Regions from separate parts of the Homo sapiens genome. Here region 2 is linked to region 1. Evidence: promoter capture Hi-C in human tissues and cell types (Jung and others, 2019). All regions are on one chromosome and are shown on one strand. The core of a region is centred on a gene start or on the middle of the fragment in contact, and the rest is flanking DNA. Distances in the headings are between cores, read along the strand shown.

Region 1 (5,592 bases), core at 1,775-4,274:
TATCCCCACCACCCTGGACCTTCAGTGGTGGGGATACTCTGGCTTCAGCTAGGACCTGCCTAGACTGGGGAAGTCCACAGAGCAAATCCCAAAGCCAAGTGAAGTAGTGTTTCTACTCATCTGCAGCCTTAAGTCCTCCACGAGGATGCTTCTGTCCAGGGAAGGGAATGATGGTCATTCTTCCAGGCAAATGAAGCCCAACCTCCTCCCACTCTGTCCTCACTGCCTTCTGTCCCCCTGCTTCCAGTGCACTCACTGCCCCTCTATCTACTCTCCCCTGAGAGGGCGGCACAGGCCTGGCGGGGAAGAAAAAGGAGACCCCATTGAGATATGATAATGTTCAGATGGAGGCAGAAAGAATGACTAGAGGTCAGGCTTGCCTAGGGGCTGGGGAACACTGGGGTAGCCTGGTCCCCAGGGCTTGAGAAGGGCAAGGAAGAGGCTTCTCCAGCCACCTCCAAAGCCCACCCCCAGGTCTCTGCAGTATCATAGACAGCCCTGTCACACCTGCCTGGAAGCTGCCTAAGGGTAGAAGGAATAAAACGAGCTCCAGCTGCAATGTGAGGGCAGGTGAGCCCAGACCCAGCTCCAGAAAGGGTCTCCTCGGCCCTGCGAGGTCTTCAGCAAGGTACATGCTTTGCCCAGGTGAAACCAGCTTCAGTCCTAAATTGAAGCCAGTTGCAAGCTTCTCTAGGTGAAAAGTCAATGTTTACGAACACCAACACTTTTTGCTTCCCCTGGTCCTGTTCTGCGGATGTCAGACCCCAAAGCTGAAAAAGAAATGTTCCTGCATAATCACCCCCTTCCCCCAAAAGAAAACCCAAGTTCCCTGGACCAAGCTCCTGGACTGCAGAACAAAGCAGACTCCCAGCAGAGTGGTCTGGTCTCTCTTCCTCCAGGGAATGGTGGGCCAGGTCTATGTGAGGCTATAACCTAGAAACTTTCCTCTGCCTCCCTCTCCTCCTCCTTTGGCAAGACAAGGAGGGGAGAAGGTAAGGATTAAGCCCAAAAGATCTCCAGAAAAAGCCAAGCCTCTGGGGGGAGTCCTAGAGGGTGAAGCCAGGGATCTGCCTGGCAGCCAAGCAGAGCAGAGGCAGCCACCCTGAGGGAAAGGTGGTTCAGTCGGGGTTCAGTGGGCACTGGCCATTTTCCAGGGGCATGGGAGGAGATGGGTTGGAGTTGGACTCCCTAGGCTGCAGTGTGCCTGGCGTGGACCCCTGACGCTGACTCACCCCCAGGGCCCTGACACACGCTGCAGCTTGCAGTGCCTGCCAGACCACCACTCTCATTCCACAGGACCAGGATGCCAGGCACGTCCCACTGCATCAGAGCCACCCTGCCCCCTTCCACCTGCCACTCGGGCCCGCCTTTGGGGCACTGGGCATGGCTTTTTTCAGCACCTCTGCTGGTCACAGAGATGTTTCTAGCAGCCCCAAAGCTGGACTTAGTCTTAAGTAGGGAGAGATGGTTGAAAGGATTAAGGGCTTCCCTGCTTCTGTCACCCCCTCTAATGAAGTGCCAGGTTATGGGGATCCAGACAGATTGGATGGAGGACAATCTATTCCACCTGGGAGAGGCCCCGCAGGGCGGCAGCAGTAGGGGAGGGAGAAGGGCACCCTTTTGCTTTCCAGGTCAGACCCCAGTTCACCTTTCTGGCTTCCTGGGCGCCCCCAGATCCTAAGGACTTCCTCCTCCTTATAAGCTAACTCAACCTGTACTACCTGCCCACGGGGCCTCTGCCCTTCCCTCCCCACTGCAGTGGCCCCTCCTGGGCCAGCACCTCTTCTGTCCTTGCACTCCCTTCTCCTGCTGCGGGGAGAGCACCTACTCTGCCACCTCAGCCAGGGGTAAGGGAGGACACTGCCCTGCCAGGAGACACCCCACGAGCCATGGGCTGGGGGTGTCCTGGAGGCACCTGTGGAATGTGGGGATGAAAAGGGAGGAGACAGGATGAGGGGGCCTGGCTTAGTGGGATGTGAAACGATAAAGCTCCACTTTTTAGTTGAAAAATAAAAGCCCTGTGCCCCAGAGGTGGGGGAAGGAGCATAGGCAGGGGAAGGGGGCACCCCAAATGGGAAAGGTACATGGAAGAGTCCAGAAAAGGGAGTCGGGCTGTCAGCACCCGCCAGGCTGCGAGCCTAGCCCTTGGGGACAGAGCTGAAGCAGGGACGGGGCGTCCTAGGTCGTGCTGAGTCATGAGATTTGGAGAGAGGGGAGGGGCGCCTCCAGCCCCTTCTTGGGCCCCTGCCCCAGCTCCTCGTGCCCGTTGCTTCCAGATGGCCCCTGCAGTCTGTCTCCCCAACCTCTCCCTGACCCAGGGTCTCCGGCTCCCAGCGCCCAGACCCCACCCCCCGCCCCACTTCCCACGACGGCGGTGCCAGGGGTCCCCGAAGCTTGAGACTGGGGCAAAAGAACCTTCCTTGGAGACCGCTAGGGCTGGCGGGGGCTGGGCTAGACGCGAGTGGGTTCGTCCCAGGGAAAGGAGAGAGGGACGGGGGCGCAGAGCCGGCCGGTGCAGGGGACGCGTGGCCCGCCCCTCTCTGCAGCAACCCGCGGGAGGAAATCTGCCCCCAGCCCAGCCCCAGTCCCTCAGAGGAGCCGGCTCCTCGCCCCTCGGGTCCGACTCCCCGAGACGAACCTTCCATCCGGACGCTTCCAAACTCCCCCAAAGGACGGGGCAGACTCCCGGCCCCCTTGGCCTCAAACTTCCCCAACCCTACTCACCTCTCGGGACCCAGACCACCCCGTGGCCCCTCGACTCAGTAGCAGGAAAGGAGAAACTTTGGAGAGGGAGGTCCGTGCCCCCACCGGCGGGGGTATGGACTTACCGGAGAGCGACCCGAAGGAGGCGGGAGAGATCCGGGGTCTCCAATGTGAGGGGGCGTCGGACGGCAAGGACGCGTGGCTGGCGACGGTTTCGCAGGGGCGCCCGTTCCCCTGGGGGCGCGAAGTCCCCGCTCCACCGCTGCCCCAACTCGGCTCCGAAGTGCCTTTGCCGCAAGACTTGCTGAGCTTAGCAGTCTGCGCCGAGGCGGCAGAGGGAGGGGGCCTGATCGATGGGCGCGCGCGGCGAGCGCTGCAGTGAGGGGAGGAGACCAAGCGGCGTGGGAGGGCGGGGACCGAGGCGGAGGAGGCCCGGAGGAGGCGGAGGGCGGGCCTGCCCCCCGGGACGGGTTCTTTCTGCGCAGCCCCCCAGGCGCTCGGCGCCCCCGCCTCCTGCTCAAGGTCAAGGAGGCTGCTTCCCCAGCAGGAAGGCGGACTGGAAAGGAGCTCTATACTCCCCACCCCAGAAGGCTGGTCTCCTTTCTAGCCAGCTCCTTCTCTCCAACTTCCCGAACCCACTGCAGCTCAAGGCTAAATTATTGGGCTCAGGAGCCCCCATCCCCATGGCCATTTTGGGATCCCTGAGCCCCTAGCCTCCCCTCCTCCCCTCTCCGCTTAGGTCACCGCTACCTATATTGGCCACCTGGATGGTGGGGGCTTCTGAGCCTAAAGGTTGGGTGAGAGAGAGGAGGATGCTTGAGAGAAGACAGCGGTGCCTGAGGCCTATGGAAATAGAACAGCGGAGGGGAGAGTAAGAACTGCAGGGTGACAAGGAGAGAGGAGCTGGAAGACGGTAGAAAGAAAAGGAGGACGCTACTGGTTATTAAAGACAGGGTGTTCACACATGTTAGTTTGCTTAATACGTAAGACATCCCTTTAAGGTGGGCATTTTGCGTGGGCAGTTTGCAGGTGGGGAAACAGTCCCTGAATGGTGCGTTGGACCAAGGAGCTGCAGACAGTTAAGTGGTGGCATTTCGGAAGAGCCTGGGAGAAAGAGAAGGGTGGCAAGGGCAAAACAGAGCCCTTCCTAACCTACCCAGGAGCTGCCAGGGCAGCACCAGAACTTCCTTACAGCACAATTTGAATATCCGCTTTAACTCTTTTGGAGTTAACTTTTTTTTTTCTTTTTTTTTTAGACAAGTCTCACTCTGTTACCCAACCTGCAGTGCAGTGTGCAGTGGCGCGATCTTGGCTCACTGCCACCTCTGCCTCCTGGGTTGAAGGGATTCTCCCGCCTCAGCCTCCCGAGCAGCTGGGATTACAGACGTGCGCCACCACACCCGGCTAATTTTTGTATTCTTAGTAGAGATGGGGTTTTGCCATGTTGGCCAGGCTAGTCTCGAACTCCTGACCTCAAGGGATCCACCCACTTCAGCCTCTCAAAGTGCTGGGATTACAAGCATGAGCCACTGCGCTTGGCCTGGAGTTAACTTTTATAATAGGACTGTAGCATCCTGCCTCGCTTTTGGGTACAAAACCGTACATGGCCTGAGGTCAGTCTTCAATACGTACTAGGTGAGTGAGTGAGAGGTGGAATGAATGCAATATGAGGAGATGCAAAGAACAAGTGGGATTCAGGCTTTGGGGAGAGAAGAGGCAGTGGAGGGCACTTTTCAGATCACTGTGCCAATAATACCAGGTGTTACTGGCAGACCATCCCCAGTTGGAGACTATCCCCAGTTTGGCTTGCCTCAGAGCAAGGCGGCAAGTGGCTGCCGACTCAGTGGATGTTACGAAAAAGGTGGGGGAAGACCTCTGGGGAGTCCTCAATCAGGCTGAAGCTGTGCTCACAGCCCCTGAGGCACAGAGGCCCTCCCCCTTCACCTGTGGAGCAGCCAGAACAAGGGCAGTGGAGGAAATGGGGAGCCAAGTTACAATGGACTAATGAGACCTTTACATTCAAAGAGGTTACCCACCACCCCCACCCTTAGCCAGGTGTGTTCCAGGACTTGTTGCTTCCCCAAAGGGGCTGGCTCTACTCTATTCATTCCTTCCTGCTCCCCATGCCAACAACCAGTATCTGCAGGACTCCAGCCAGAAAGAGGGCTGCAGCCCCCTCGCACAGAATCAAGCCAAGCGAACTGGCCTGATGCGCTTCAACTTTTCCACGGCAGCAGACTCAGCTGCCTACTGTTCTGATCAAAGCCTTGTGTCAATCTGGTGCCCCAGCTTCTTCTCCTAAGCACGTCAGAGGAAGCCAGCCTGCCTTCCCAGGCTATTAGGAGAGTCAGAGCTGTAATCAATTTGGTTAAATGAAAAATGTGGTGTCGCTGGCTACAGCCTTAATGTTCTTTTAATTCATCAGGACCAGTAGTGTCTGGGTTACAAACCTAATCAAGAGCTCAACATCCCTCTTGCTTATTCCCCCAGGCTTCAGGAGCTGGAAGAGGAAAGAATGGAAAAGACATCCACCCCCTCCACACCCAGCCTATTATTAGATACTTTGCTTTTCAACTGTTCATCATTGTAGAAAGATGAGCCTCTAGTATCTTAGACCAGCATCACTCAATTGCATGCACATGCAGGGCCATCAGGGCAATCCCTCTGCTTCCACACAAGGTCATTTTGAACCCACAAAAGGTGGGGGAGAGCTATCTAACACTGAGCGTTTTTCAGGAAGAAAGTCTACAACTCCCTCAATTACATTGTTTTACCACTTTCTGCTGAATAGTGTGCTTCCTGGTGGCTTCATTTTCTGTTTTTTTCTAGGGAGGAGAGAGAAGAGAGCAGGGAGCTGCTGCATCGTGCCCCTGTCACAGCTTTCCCTGG
Region 2 (5,365 bases), core at 1,383-3,882, 140 kb after region 1:
TTAGCCAGGAGTGGCAGTGTGCACCCATAGTCCCAGCTACTCAGGAGGCTGAGGTAGGAGAATCGCTTGAACCCAGAAGGCGGAGGTTGCAGTGAGCTGAGATCGTGCCACTGCACTCCAGCCTGGGCGACAGAGTGAGACTCCGTCTCCAAAAAAATAAATAATAATAAAATAATAATAAAAGCAGCCTCCTTGAACCTGGACTGTTCCAGAAGGGGCCATTTGTTTAGTCATTAGCTTCTGCCAGAACCTTTTACTAATAAATTGATCTCTGACACCACATGTGAGCAGATATGCCTAAGCCTCTAAAACAACAGTTCCTAATTTCCTCATTAGGAACTCCGTTGAGAATAAGAGATACGGATCTTCTTGCCTAAAAGTCTCATAGGCACTTTTAAGATTTACTTCATAGCCAGGCATGAGGTAGTGCCTGTAGGCCACCACATGGGGAGGCTGAGGCAGGAGGATGGCTTGAGCCCAGGAGTCCAAGGCTGTAGCATGCTGTGACCACATCTGTGAGAATAACCACTACATTCCAGCGCATGCAACACAGCGAGACCCTGTCCCTTAAAGTAAGTTGTTTCGTATCTTCATAGTCCCAGGCTGGAGACCACTGTTTTTTTTGGAATCCTATTTCTTGGACCCTGCGTTTGTAAGGCATCAGGACAGAGCCCTCAAGTCTAAGATGGCTGCTGCGGAGAGGCCTGTGAAGGCAACCTCTACTGCCCTCTCTTGGCCATCAGGCGGGAGGAGTGGTTAGACGTGCTTGATTCCTTGTGGCACTGAAGTCCTGCAGTTTCTGCCCCGGAATGCTGGGGGCAGATAAACTTTCGGCAGCTTTCATTAGAATCTCTAGAAAGCTTACTCTTCCTCGAACTGGGCTGGAGACAAGGGGGTACACATAGGGACCCCTGTGAAGTTGAAGTACCACAGCCTGGGTGCTGAACCGGCGAAGGCGTGTCAGGGTGGTCCGCTCACACAGGAGGGAAGCAGTGCCAATCCTCCACTAGACATGCCCTGGCTGGAGGCCCTAGCAGCAGAGGCCACCCTGCCCTTCAACTTAGAAAGACATTAAAGGAAGCTGAGAAGCTTAAAGATGGCCCACTGCCTGGGCAGAATTCCACAGAGTTCCACATCGCTTGCAATATCCATTGTATTTGTAGGGGGTCAGGGAACAGTGGAATGAGATACACACACAACTGTGGTGCGAGAGACCAGGTGTTACAGGTGCCAGGACCCCTAGAACTCCTCATGCTCATCCTCGCTGTCCAAAGATTCTGTGCCTACTTCATAATCCTTCTCCAGGGCAGCCAGGTCCTCTCAGGCCCAGAGAGCTCACCTTCCTCCATGCCCCTGTCCACATAACAGTGCATAAATGCCCGCTTGGCATACATCAGGTCAAACTTTTGGTTGAGGCGGGCCCAGGCCTCAGTGATGGCTGTGGTATTGTTTAGCACGCAGACTGCCCGCTGCACCTTGGCTACAGCACCCCCGGGCACCACTGTGGGGGACTGGTAGTTGATGCCAACCTAAGAAAAAACAAAGAAGTATAAGCGCCTGGTTCTGTGTTTCCTGGAAGGGTCTGTACAGGGATCCCTGGAACTAGGGAAGGGGCATTTGTCAACTTGTAAGAAACAAAGAGGAAGATGATCACCACCACAAGGAAACAAACAAGTCTAGAATGAGGGAGCTTCTGCAAGACAAGACTAGTGCCTTCAAAGTCAGTCAAGAAAAAGGGGGCCGGATGCGGTGGCTCACGCCTGTAATCCCAGCACTTTGGGAGGCCGAGGCGGGTGGATCACCTGAGGTCATGAGTTTGAGACCAGCCTAGCCAACATGGTGAAACCCTGTCTCTACTAAAAATACAAAAAATAGCCGGGTGTGGTGGCGGGCGCCTATAGTCCCAGCTACTCGGGAGGCTGGGGCAGGAGAATTGCTTAAACCCAGGAGGCGGAGGTTGCAGTGAGCTGAGATCACGCCACTGCACTCCAGCCTGGGTGACAGAGTGAAGCTCCGTCTCAAAACAACAACAACAACAAAACAAAACAAAAAACAGGGTCTCGCTCTGTTGCTGAGGCTGGAGAGGGGGGTGCAATCATAGCTCACTGCAGCCTAAACCTCCTGGACCCAGGTGATCCTCCCACCTCAGCCTTCTGAGTAGCTAGAACTATAAGTACACACTAGCAAGACTGGCTAATTTTTTAAAATATTTTGTACAGATGGAGTCTCACATTGCCCAGGCTGGTCTCAAACTCCTGGGCTCAAGCCATCCTCCCACCTCTGCCTCCCAAAGTGCTGGATTACAGGCCTGAATCACTGCACCCAGCCCAGAATATATAATACATTTTAGTGTTTCTCATCCTCAAAAAAAAAAAAAAAAAAAAAAAGTCAACTTCCCATTAGTGTCTCTAGGGACAACAAGCTGACCATGTCCTAAAGGCAGCCTATTCTTCCCTTAAGCAGCTAAAGATCTTCCTAATATGGAGGCAGAAACAGTCTGTTTCCCAGATAGCCTACCCCTCATTTCCATTTCTGAGCTACAGGACAACTCTTCCACACTAGCAAGCAGCTATTATTCCTGCCTGTCCTCCTGTTGTGGTCATGTCCACAGCAGTGTCATGGGGCAGGAAAGCTATATATGTTTTCTTTTTTTATTTTTATTTTTTTGAGACGGAGTCTTGCTCTGTTGCCCAGGCTGGAGTGCAGTGGCGCGATGTTGGCTCACTGCAAGCTCCGCCTCCCGGGTTCACGCCATTCTCCTGCCTCAGCCTCCCCAACAGCTGGGACTACAGGGGCATGCCGCCATGCCCAGCTAATTTTTTTTGTATTTTTAGTAGAGACGGGGTTTCACCGTGTCAGCCAGGATGGTCTCGATCATCTCCTGACCTTGTGATCCGGACACCTCGGCCTCCCAAAGTGAGCCACTGCGCCCAGCCGCTATATATGTTTTCTAATGCCACAGCTGCCATCTTTAATCTTTCTGGAGTCTTATCCCACAACAAAACCCAAAAAACAAACTAGGTCATATGCCCAGCACCCTGGGAAGGTCAACTGATAACAGGGTGGGGCATAAATGCGTGCTTCTTCCTTATTACCGCAAAAGGAAGAGAACGCATCCAGACGCAGAACACAAGAAGCCTCTGACCTTCTGATCCGCACTTTCCCCATCATCTGATAATGGGCCTCTCTGGCTTCTGAAAGCCTTCCCTTCTGAGCAGGAGCCTATAGCACGTGGTTATGTCCCTAGCACAAGTGACAAGGAGGCCATTCTCCCCATGTGACTGGCAGCCCTAGGGAACGCCTTTTTACCAGGCTAAGTAAGATGAAATTGATACTTTTCCTTTCATCAAGGCAATCTTTCAAGTAGAACCCACGCTGGCTTACAGTCCAAAGGCCTGGCTTCTAGACCAGCTGAGACCTATCCAGTTAAAGGAATCCTCTAGCGGGGCACAGTGGCTCACACCTGTAACACTTTGGGAGGCCATTGTAGGTGGATCACCCATGCGCAGGAGTCTGAGACCAGCCTGGGCAATATGGTGAAGCCCCACCTCTCCAAAAAAATACAAAGTTAGCAGGGTGTGGTGGCACAAACCTGTGGTCCCAGCTACTGAGGAGGCTGAGACAGGAGGACTGCTTGAGTGCAGGAGGTCGAGGCTGCAGTGAGCCAAGATGACGCCAGTGTACTCCAGCCTGGGTGACAGTGAGATCCTGTGCATTTGTTCCTCACACCTCCTCTGCAGGAAGCTCCCGTCTTAGCAGGTACACAGGCCATGTGCTAACTGCCCTTTACCCCCACTTGCCTTGAAACCTGTGGGACACGTCCGCAAAACAAATATTTGCTTGGTTTTAATGGTGGCAATGGTGGCATTCTCGTCCTTGGGCACCACTTCTCCACAGTAGAGCAGGCAGCAGGCCATGTACTTGCCGTGGCGAGGGTCACACTTGGCCATCTGATTGGAGGGCTCAAAGTAGACACTGGAGATCTCTGCCACTGAGAGCTGCTCATGGTAGGCCTTCTTAGCTGAGATAATGGGTGAGTAGGTCACCAGGGGAAAGTGGATGCGAGGGTAGGGCACCAGATTGGTCTGGAACTCTGTGAGGTCCACGTTGAGGGCACCATCAAAACACAAGGAAGCAGTGATGGAGGACACAATCTGGCTGATGAGCCAGTTCAGGTTGGTATAGGTAGGGCGCAGGTTGTGGCAGCAGAGATCATAGATGGCCTCGTCTACCATGAAGGCAGTCTGAGTGCTCCAGGGTGGTGTGGGTGGTCAAGATAGAGTTATAGGGTTCTACAACTGTCATGGACACTTGGGGGACTGGGTAGATAGCAAATTCCAACTTGAGCCAGTGCCATCCCCAAAACTATGGAAGATCAGGAAGCCCTGAAGCATGGTGCACTGGTCTGTCTGGAGCAGGCAATAACATCATTAAGGATGTAGATGGCATGTCACCCGTCCCAACCCTCTTCTCCTGAGGAAGCTTCTGTGTTGAAAGCTACTATTACCTAACTATACTTGCATTCACTTCTGTATTTTAGAAAGACTTTGAAGTATAGTTTATACTTAAGTGTGTGCATCTTTTGGACATACAATGAATGATTTGACATGCGTAGACACCTATATAACCAAACCAACAGAGATACAGAAATTCCCATCACCCCGAGAAAGTTCCTTTGTGTCCTTTTGCTTCGCCTCCATAGAGGTGAAAAAAGATCACCTGTCCAGGTGTGGTGGTTCACACCTGTAATCCCAGCACTTTGGCGTACCAAAGTGCTGGGATGGCAACACCCCATCTCTACAAAAAAATACAAAAAGTATCTGGGTGTTGTGGTGTGCACCTGTAGTCCCAGCTACTCAGGAGGCTGAGGCGGGAGGACCACTTGAACCCAGGAGGTAGAGGTTGCAGTGAGCTGTGACTGCACCACTAGTGGCATTCCAGCCTAGGCGACAGAGCAACTCTCTCAAAAAAGAAAAAAAAAAAAAAGATCACCTACAGGAGGTTTGGAGTTCCTAGGGAAAAGATGACTTGGAAAGGCAGTGTTGTGCATACGCAATGGTAGGGATGAGGAAGGACGGATGATTTGCACTCAGAGAGCCAGGCCCTCTCTGTTTTGTTGCCCTGCCCCCTAGTTACAGCAGAGTGGGAGTGGTGGTGGCATCCTGTTGAACATACAGATTACCAGGCCTCACCTCAGACTGGAACCCAGGAACCTGCAGCTTTAAAAAGTACCCCATGTGATGCTGATACAGCTGTTTCTTGGGTAAGAAAATCATCAGTCTATACCAGACACATGGTAGTGACAGTATAAAAGAAGTCTACCCCTAGGAGGTATTTTATTTTCATTCTTGAGGAAGGGAGCACA

The links. Contacts are between HindIII fragments. The study calls those that stand out against the background at their distance.
Region 2: a contact is called between a fragment that was not itself captured here and the fragment with the promoter of SYT2 in region 1, in 2 of the 25 tissues and cell types used here (H1 embryonic stem cells and pancreas).

The regions. Positions count from the first base shown.
Region 1 is chr1:202,707,430-202,713,021 of GRCh38, forward strand. SYT2 (synaptotagmin 2) reads right to left here and starts at 3,025. Exons shown (of 9, transcript NM_177402.5): 1 at 2,829-3,025. The HindIII fragment of the contact is 5,475 bases long and covers 1,540-5,592 here.
Region 2 is chr1:202,851,752-202,857,116 of GRCh38, forward strand. It overlaps the pseudogene TUBA5P. Among named protein-coding and RNA genes, the nearest start is that of RABIF, 35 kb to the right of the region's middle. RefSeq lists an enhancer at 1,276-1,775. The HindIII fragment of the contact is 4,898 bases long and covers 184-5,081 here.